3 separate regions of the Homo sapiens genome follow, and regions 1 and 3 are each linked to region 2. The links are contacts of gene promoters, found by promoter capture Hi-C in blood cells and fetal thymus (Javierre and others, 2016). All regions are on one chromosome and are shown on one strand. Each heading gives the region's core, a stretch centred on a gene start or on the middle of the fragment in contact. The rest is flanking DNA. Distances are from core to core; before and after follow the strand shown. Region 1 has its middle 27 kb from the start of GBP5. Region 2 holds the start of GBP4 (guanylate binding protein 4). Region 3 has its middle 44 kb from the start of GBP6.

Region 1 (3,042 bases), core at 57-2,556, 100 kb before region 2:
TGTGTATATATATCCAAAAGAATTAAAATCAGCATATTGTAGAGATATCTGCTCTTTAATGTTTAATGCAGCACTATTCACAATAACGAAGATACAGAATTAACCTAAGTGTCTATGGATGGATAAATGGATAAAGAAAATGTGGTACATATACACAATGGAACACTAGTCAGCCTTAAAAAAAGAATGAAATCCTTTATTTGTGGCAACATGGATCAAACTGGCGGATGTTGTGTTGAGTGAAATAAGCCAGGCCCAGAGAGGCAAATACTGCATGATTTCACTCATATGTGGAATCTAAGAGAGTTGATCTCATAAAAGTAGAGAGTAGTGGTTACCAGAGCATGGGAAAGTGGGGAGAGGTGCGGAGGATGGCAAGAAGTTGGTCAATGGGTATAAAGTTACAGTTAGGAAGAATAACTTACATGTTCGATTACACAGTAGGGTGACTGTAGCTAATAACAATGTGTTGTATATTTCAAGATAGCTAGAATAAAGGATCTTTGAAAGTTATCATCACAAAGAAATGATAAAGGTTTGAGGTGATTGACATAACTACCCTGATTTTATCATTATATAATGCATACATGCATTGAAACATCACACTGTATCTTCAAAACATCTGCAATTATTGTGTGTCTACTATAAATAAAATCTTAAAAATCTCAAAAAAAGTATAACTGAACAGAGCCACCAGCTGCTGCACATAGGAGGACCTCAGACTGTAGAGACTTAGTCTAGGCAAGACATCAAAGAAACTAAAGAACAAAGATACCAAGTAATTAACGTTAATACATTGTTCAAAGAATCAAAGCAAAATATGATGACATTGACTCATGATATAATAATTTCAATAAGGAGATAGAAGTTATAAAAAACAGAAACTCTGGCATTGAGAAGTTCAATAACACATAAAAATAATTAAATGACCATAACTCCCAGAATTTGATTAAAAACATTAATCTACACCTTCAGGAATCTATATGAAGTCTAAAAATATAAACACAGCAAAATTCCCACTAAAATACACCGTACTCATCTGCTAATGGCAAGATGGGGTAATAACAAGAAAGCTAGTCAGGCAACATGTACTAAGTTGTAACTGCAGTTACTGGAATTTTCTATATACTTGTATGTATATATTTTTACTTTAAGTTCCAGGATACATGTGCAGAATATGCAAGTTTGTTACATAGGTATACATGTGCCATGGTGGTTTGCTGCACCTATCAACCTGTCATGTAGGTTTTAAGCCCTGCATGCATTAGGTATTTGTCCTAATGCTCTCCCTCCTCTTGTCCCCCACCCCCTGATAGGTGCCAGGTGCCAGTGTGTGTTTTTCCCCTCCCTGTGTCCGTGTATTCTCACTGTTCAACTCCCACTTATGAGTGAGAACATGTGATGTTTGGTTTTCTGTTCCTGTTTTAGTTTGCTGAGAATGATGGTCTCCAGCTTCATCCACATCCCTGCAAAGGACATGATCTCATTCTTTCTATGGCTGCATAGTATTCCATGGTGTATATATGCCACATTTTCTTTATCCAGTCTATCATTGATGGGCATTTAGGTTGGTTCCAAGTCTTTGCTAATGTAAATAGTTACTGGAATTTTGTAACCTTCATTGCATCTATACTTTGTCATGTTCTAGATATTAACTCAGCATGCCTTTTCTAAATATTTAAAAACCCCACGAGCTAATTTTACTTTCAGCTTCAGTTTTCACTCCATTTCCTTTCTGGGAATGATTAACATTCTTAGTTTGTTTTCAGTGTTTATAAATTAGAAGCAAAACCTTAGAGGGAGGAAACAGAGCAAGGGTGAGTTGGCAGCTACGGAGAACTAGTTAGTACTGAGCACAGTCACCTGCAGTGCTGTGGAGCAAGTACACTCATTGTTTATAATTTATCCACTCTAAGGTATTTTGTTGGAGCAGTCAGAATAGACTAAGACAAGTCATACAACTAAAAGTGAAATAAAATAAATTAATAAATTAAAATTCACCCGTGGTGATATTCTGCCATATATGTGGTTTTCTTCCTTTCTTTTTTTTTTTTCCACTCTATTGTCAGCTCACTGCAGCCTCTGTCTCCCGGATTCAAGTGATTCTCCTGCCTCAGCCTACTGAGTAGCTGGGATTACAGGCATGCGCCACCAAGCCTGGCTAATTTTTATATTTTTAGTAGAGACTTTGTTTTGCCATGTTGCCCACGCTGGTCTCGAACTCCTGGGCTCAGGCAATCCACTCGCCTCGGCCTCCTAAAGTGCTGGGATTACAGGTGTGAGCCACTGTGCCCGGTCATATGTGTTCTATACATATGGAGCTCTCCATTTACATTCAAAATAAAAGTTTCATTTCATACAGTTGAGTGTTAACAGTACAATTATTCCATGGGTCTACAAGCAAATACTTGACTCTCAATATATTTAAATGGTTCTCTATATCTCTATTTTTATAGCAAGATTATGTAAACATAACATGAAGGCTACCATAATTTCCAAGAAGAGATGTTGGATATGATAAGTGCCCTCTTCACTAAGAATGTGAAATATGGATATGGATATATCTTAATTCAAACTAAATTTCGAATAATTCATAAGTGGAATTTTAACAGGACAAATAATCTAATTTACCCTGCCTACGTATTCACCTCTCTAGTCTAGTTTGTTTGTAATATGCTTCACCAGGAAATTGTTTTTCCAGGATATCTCAAGCATATTAACTAAAGAAAAAAATAATTAATTGTTTAAATACAGTGACCTGAGAAACACACAAGAGTGAATAGGAAGATAAAGGTGAATTTAGTAAGAAAAGATAGGACTTATGACGGTATTCACACTGTGTAGAGTTTGCTTGTGATTTTAGAACTGTAGTCCCAATATTTGAATCCCATTGATGTCCCAAATTTCCTGCCTCTTTCAGGGCTGGGGATTCTGGTAGTGACTTATGTGAATATCATCAACAGTGGAATGGTTTCATTATTTGGAAAATGCAGAAACACCTCTGACTCAGAGTGAGAACACACTGGCCCTACAGAGTGATGT
Region 2 (3,011 bases), core at 361-2,860:
AGTCTTTTTATCAAAATAAAAGTTATTTCCTTTTTATGAGTATGTGTGTGCATATCTGTGATTATAAAAAAAGTCTTTAAAAATTCATATAATTCAGAAAGACATTTTAAAAAAATCACCTGAGCTAGAAGTACTAATTTTAAGGAGGTAGTGGTTGGGGGAACACTTATAGACTTTTATCTGTGTAACACAGACATATTGCTATGTATATTTTCTATGTGCATAGACATATTGCTATGTGCAATCATTATACATACAACTGTGAATTAACAATTTTTTTTGAGACAGTATCTCACTCTGTTGCCCAGGTTGGAGTGCAGTGGGACCACCATGGCTCATTGCAGCCTTGACCTCCTGGGCTCAGGTCATCCTCCCACCTCAGACTCCCAGGTAACTAGGACTATTATAACAGGCACATGCCATTATGCCCAGCTAATTTATTATTATTATTATTTGTAGAGATGGGGTTTCCCCATATTGCCCAGGCTGGTTTCCAATTCCTGGACTCAAGTGATCTGCCCACCTTGGCCTCCCAAAATGGTTGGATTGCAGGAGTGAGCCACCACACCCAGCCTAAATTTCTTCTTGATTAACATTTCCATGATTATCTGAAGTCAGTAACATTGGATTATCTGGAAAGGGGTGCCACTGGTGAAATTCAGGTGTTTCAAACACATTTACCTGGATTCAGTCATCCCTGTACTTTTTCTTCTTCTTCTTTTTTTTTTTTTTTAAGAGAGAGGGACTTCCTGACATTAAAAAATGGTAAGAGAAAAAAGCACCTGATTTCTTATTACTGGTCCTATTTAAAACTTGACTTAGCTTTATTTTCACTTTCAATATTGCTTATAGGAAATAAATGTTAAGTTTTGAATCAAAATCGGCACCAGTAATTTTACCTGATTAAGTGCCTAAAATTTTGTACTTATTAATTTGCAAATGTTTAATCAGACATTACTAAACAAATAGGAAGATCTAAGGGATAGGCACAAATGGGGAATCATTACCCATTTATTTCAGATAGATTTCCCAAACTCTGTTAACAAACTGGCTAGTCATTTTAGGAACTGAGTCCATTTTTCTGGTAGCCTGGGTAAGACTCCTAATTATAAATTATGCTTTTTATGGTCCAATCATCCTCCTGTCCTCCAAAAGATCCAGTTTCAATGAGATGTTTGTGTTTTGAAAGAGAAGTATTTACTTGCCACCACCGCACCTCTGGGCAACAACGTTAGAGGATACATAGATATCCATAGACACACACACAAACACACACATATTTTATGGTTAATGAAAAAATAAAGAAAAGAGATGAGAAACAGAAACATATAAGCATGTAAAAAAAAATAAAAGCAAACAAAAACTCAAATTTCTTCCCTGACAAAATTACCCCTGAGAGACAGGTAGATGAAACAACATTCATGTCTGCTGCTCTATATTCATTTTGGAGGCGAAAGATACCTAAGCTAAGGGTGGAAGAGGGACAAACAAACCTGAGTTTCAGGAGTCTGGTGTGGAGGAACCAGCACTTTCAAGCTCCTTTAGTTTCCTGTCTTGATAAACAGGAAAATCCCCAACAGTCAACTCCCCACAAAGTGCATGTCCTTTCAATTTCGGTTCTCACAGACTCTTACTTGGATGTCTGTAAATCCGGCTGGACTTTCAGCTTCTAAGAACAGTCCGTTTCTCGAGGATCCAGGCGCAGGAGGACAGAGCAATGGGTGAGAGAACTCTTCACGCTGCAGTGCCCACACCAGGTAAGTTTGCTCTTAAGCTTTACCTTTCAAGTATATTTGGGTTATAACAAACAACAACAAATTCCCAAGCGCAGACTGCACACGGGGAGGGTTGGAGACTTCACACTGGCGGGTGACAAAGGCAGTGGAGGAACCTCGCGGGGAAGTCTGATGCTGCTTGAACCCCTGAGTGCTTTGCTCCGTGTGGCCCAGCGTCTCTAGACGGTCCACAGGCGGCGACCAGAGGCGCACCGGTGTCTCCAGGATGCGCTGCTCCTCCTCGGGCTTCCTCCCAGAGCTGTGGCATTTTCTCCTGCGAAATACCATCATCTAGTATACATATACACATTTTTTGCTTGTTTGTTTTATTAATTTTCTGTCCCCCACTAGAATATGTGATACCCTACCTTGTTTTAACCTGAGTTGACTCTCCCTTAGCTGAAAGAGCCAGACAGTCTGCATCTCGGCTCCTTCACTTGCAGCCCCTTACCCACCCGCTTCCTCAGGGACTTAACTTGTGCAAGCTGACTCCCAGCACATCCAAGAATGCAATTAACTGATAAGGTACTGTGGCAAGCCATACCCGCAGTTCCCAGGAATTCGCCCGGTTAACAGCACCCAGAGCCCCCCGCGTTTGTGTCTGGTTGATAAAGCCCAAAGCCCCGCTTCTATCACCTTGTGATAGAATTAAAGCCCCTGCACCTAGTACTGTTTACTTTCCTGTAACCATTTATCCTTTTAACTTTTTGCCTACTTTACTTCTGTAGGATTGTTTTAACTAGACCCCTCCCCCCAACCTCTCCTTTCTAAACCAAAGTATAGAAGAAAATCTAGCCCCTTCTTCGGGCCGAGAGAATTTTGAGCACTAGCCGTCTCTCGGTCGCCGGCTAATAAAGGACTCCTGAATTCGTCTCAGAGTGTGGCGTTTCTCTGTAACTCGCTGGGTTACAACAAATAGAGCTCCAAGAGGCAGAAGTTTGTATCAATTATGTTCCTTGCTTGTTGCTGAGAATCTAGAACGGTGTTAATTAGCACATGGTAGGTACGCAATACTCTTTATTAAATTAATGAGAGAGCAAATTCTTCTGGAATGCCTGGAGCCTTTTCTAACCACTCCTCATCTCCTTTTTGTAACATCCTGCCCCTATTTATTCCAGGAGTGGAATTATTCTGCCATCAGTGCCTTGATTTTCTAATTCTGTTTATTTTATGCATCACCTTGACAAGGCATTTTTAGCGTTCTTGTAAGAATCATAAATAATGTACATAACAGAT
Region 3 (3,337 bases), core at 193-2,692, 120 kb before region 2:
CTCAGTGGAAAGCTTACTAGCCAGGAGTAAGTGGTATAATATATTTAAACTGCTAAAAAAAAATCTTTTATCCTAGAATATCATACCAGTGAAAATATCCTTCAAACATAGAGGAAAAGTAAAGACTTTTCCAGCAAACAAAAGCTGAGGTAGTTCATCAACATAAGACCTGTCCTAAAAGAAATGCTAAAGAGAGTACTTCAATCTGAAAGGAAAGCATGTTAATGAGCAAAAAAAAAATCATCTGAGTACATAAAATTCACTGGTAACAGTGAGTATACCGACAAATATAAAATAATATGACACTGTAATTGTGGTATGTAAACTACTCATACCTTGCATAGGAAGAGTAAAAGACAAATTTATCGAAAATAATAACCACAACAACTTTTTAAGACATAGTATAATAAGATATAAATAGAAACAACGAATAGTTGAAAAGCAGAGAGGATGAAGTTAAAGTGTTGAATGTTATTAGTTTTCTCTTTGCTTGTCAGTTTTTTTTTGTAGATTTTAGCAATTAGAGTTTAACTGTCATCAGTGTAAAATAATGAGTTACAAGATATTAGTTGCAAGCCTTGTGGTAACCACAAATCAAAAAACCTACAACAGATACACAAAAAATGTATAGAGCAAGAACTTAAAACATACCAACAAGAAAATCACTTTCACAAAAAGAAAGACATGAAGGAAGAAGAGAAGAAAGAGAAGACCACAAACAACCAGAAAACAAAACCAAATGGCAGGAGTAAGTTGTTATTTAGCAACAATAACATTGAATGCAAATGGACTATACTCTCCAATCAAAAGACACAGAGAGGCCGAATGGATTAAAAAAACAGAATCCAGTGATCTGTTGCCTACAAGAAACACACTTCACCTATAAAGACACACACAAACTGAAAATAAGAAGAAGGAAAAAGACATTCCATGCCAATGGAAACCAAAAAAAGAGCAGGAGTAGCTATACTTATATCAGATAAAAGCATTTCAAGATAAAAACTATAAAAAAGACAAAGAATGTCACTATGTAACGAGTAAAAGGGATTAATATAGCAAGAGGATATAACCATTGTAAATATATATGCACCCAATACTGGAGCATCTAGATATATAAAGCAAATATTATTAGTTCAAAAGAGAGAGACAGACCACAGTATAATAACAGCTGGAGATTTCAACACCTCACCTTCAGCATTGGACAGATCAGCCAAACAAAAATTACAAAGAAAATATCAGACCTAATCTATACTATAGACCAAAAGACCTAATAGATATTTACAGATTATTTCATCCAAGGGTTGAAAAATACACGTTCTTCTGCTCAGGAAATAGATCATCCTCAAGTATAGACTATACTTTAAGCCACAAAATCAGTCTGAAAAATACAAAAAAGGTAAATATGATACTTGACACATATCAAGTATCTTCTCTGACCACAATGGAATAAAACTAGAAATCAAGCATATGAGAAAACTTAAAAGGAACACAAACATTTGGAAATTAATCAATTTGCTCCTGAATGACCAGTGGGTCAAAAAACAAGAATCAAATTTAAGAATTCCTGAAACAAATGCAAATGGAAAGAAAACATACCAAAACTTATGGGATAAGCAAAAGTGGTACTAAGAGGAAAGTTTATAGCAATAAGCACCTACAACAAAGAGGGAGCAATACTTCAAATAATCTAATGATGCATCTTAAGGAACTAGAAAAGCAAGAGCAAACCAAACCTAACATTAGTAGAAGAAAAGACATAATAATGATCTGAGCAGGAAAAAAAAAGAAATTGAAATGAGAAAAGCAATACTAAATGTCATCAAAAAGAAAAGTTGGTTTTTTGAAAAGATAATGAAAATTGGCAAACTTTTAGCCAGACTAACTGATAAAGACAGAAGACCCAAATAAATAAAATCAGAGATGAAAAAGGAGACATTACAACTTATACTGCAGAAATGTAAAGAATCACTGGACTACTATGAACAACTGTATGTCCACAAATTGGAAAACCTAAAAGAAGTGGATAAATTCCTAGACATACACAACCTACCAAGATTGAACCATTAAGAAATCTGAAGCCTAAATAGAGCAATAAAAAGTAATGACATCAAAGCCATAATAAAAAGTCTCCCAGCAAAGAAAAGCCCAGGACCCAATGGTCTCAATGCTGAACTCTACCAGACATTTAAAAAAGAATACCAATCCAACTCAAACTATTCCCCCAAAAAAGAAGGAGAGGGAATACTATGAAACTTATTCTACAAGGCCGGTATTACCCTGATGCCAAAAGCAAAGAAACATCAAAAAAAGAAAACAACAGGCTAATATCTCTGGTTAATATTGATACAAATATCCTCAACAAAATACCAGCAAAGCAAATTCAACATCAAATTTGAAAGATCATTCATCATGACTGTCATTGCAACCCCTGCTTTTTTTTTCTTTTATTTCCATTTGCTTGGTAAATATTCCTTCATTCCTTTATTTTGAGCCTATGTGTGACTGCACATGAGATGGGTCTTCTGAATACAGCACACCAATGGATCTTGACTTTTTATTCAATTTGTCAGTCTGTGTCTTTTAATTGGGTCATTTGGCCCATTTACATTTAAGGTTAACATTGTTATGTGTGAATTTGATCCTGTCATCATGATGCTAGCTAGTTATTTTGCACATTTGTTGATGCAGTTTCTTCCTAGTGTCATTGGTCTTTATATTTTGGTCTGTTTTTGGTGTGGCTGGTATCAGTTTTTCCTTTCCATATTTAGTGCTTCCTTCAGGAGCTCTTGTAAGGCAGGCCTGGTGGTGACAAAATCCCTCAGCATTTGCTTGTCTGTAAAGAATTTTATTTCTCCTTTGCTTATGAAGCTTAGTTTGGCTGGATATGAAATTCTGGGTTGAAAATTCTTCTATTTAAGAATGTTGAATATTGACCCCCACTGTCTTCGGGCTTGTAGGGTTTCTGCAGAGAGATCTGCTATTAGTCTGATGAGCTTCCTTTTGTAGGTAACCTGACCTTTCTCTCTAGCAGCCCTCAACATTTTTCCTTCATTTCAACCTTGGAGAATCTGATGATTATGTGTCTTGGGGTTACTCTTCTCAAGGAGTATCTTAGTGAAGTTCTCTGTATTTCCTGAATTTGAATGTTGACTTGTCTTGCTAGGTTGGGGAAGTTCTCCTGGATAATATCCTGAAGTATGTTTTTGAACTTCGTTGCATTCTCCCCATCACTTTCAGGGACCCCAATCAATTGTAGGCTTGGTCTTTTGACATAGTCCCATATTACTTGGAGGCTTTGTTCATTCCTTCCCATTCTTTTTTTTCTAATCTTATCTTC

What was found. The method cuts DNA at HindIII sites, captures the fragments that hold promoters and counts their contacts. A CHiCAGO score of 5 or more calls a contact.
Region 1: a fragment that was not itself captured here is called in contact with the fragment with the promoter of GBP4 in region 2 in 2 of 17 cell types (activated CD4 T cells and non-activated CD4 T cells); the score reaches 7.0 in activated CD4 T cells.
Region 3: a fragment that was not itself captured here is called in contact with the fragment with the promoter of GBP4 in region 2 in 2 of 17 cell types (activated CD4 T cells and non-activated CD4 T cells); the score reaches 8.0 in activated CD4 T cells.

The regions. Positions count from the first base shown.
Region 1 is chr1:89,298,646-89,301,687 of GRCh38, reverse strand. It overlaps the pseudogene LOC100421401. Among named protein-coding and RNA genes, the nearest start is that of GBP5, 27 kb to the right of the region's middle. The HindIII fragment of the contact is 3,568 bases long and covers 1-3,042 here.
Region 2 is chr1:89,197,541-89,200,551 of GRCh38, reverse strand. It overlaps GBP4 (guanylate binding protein 4), which reads left to right and starts at 1,610. Exons shown (of 11, transcript NM_052941.5): 1 at 1,610-1,757. The coding sequence starts at 1,718. LOC107985076 (a long non-coding RNA gene) reads right to left here and starts at 2,205. Exons shown (of 3, transcript XR_002958332.2): 1 at 2,144-2,205; 2 at 1,494-2,049. RefSeq lists a silencer at 1,512-1,806. The HindIII fragment of the contact is 3,654 bases long and covers 1-1,776 here.
Region 3 is chr1:89,318,040-89,321,376 of GRCh38, reverse strand. No RefSeq gene overlaps it. Among named protein-coding and RNA genes, the nearest start is that of GBP6, 44 kb to the left of the region's middle. The HindIII fragment of the contact is 2,856 bases long and covers 15-2,870 here.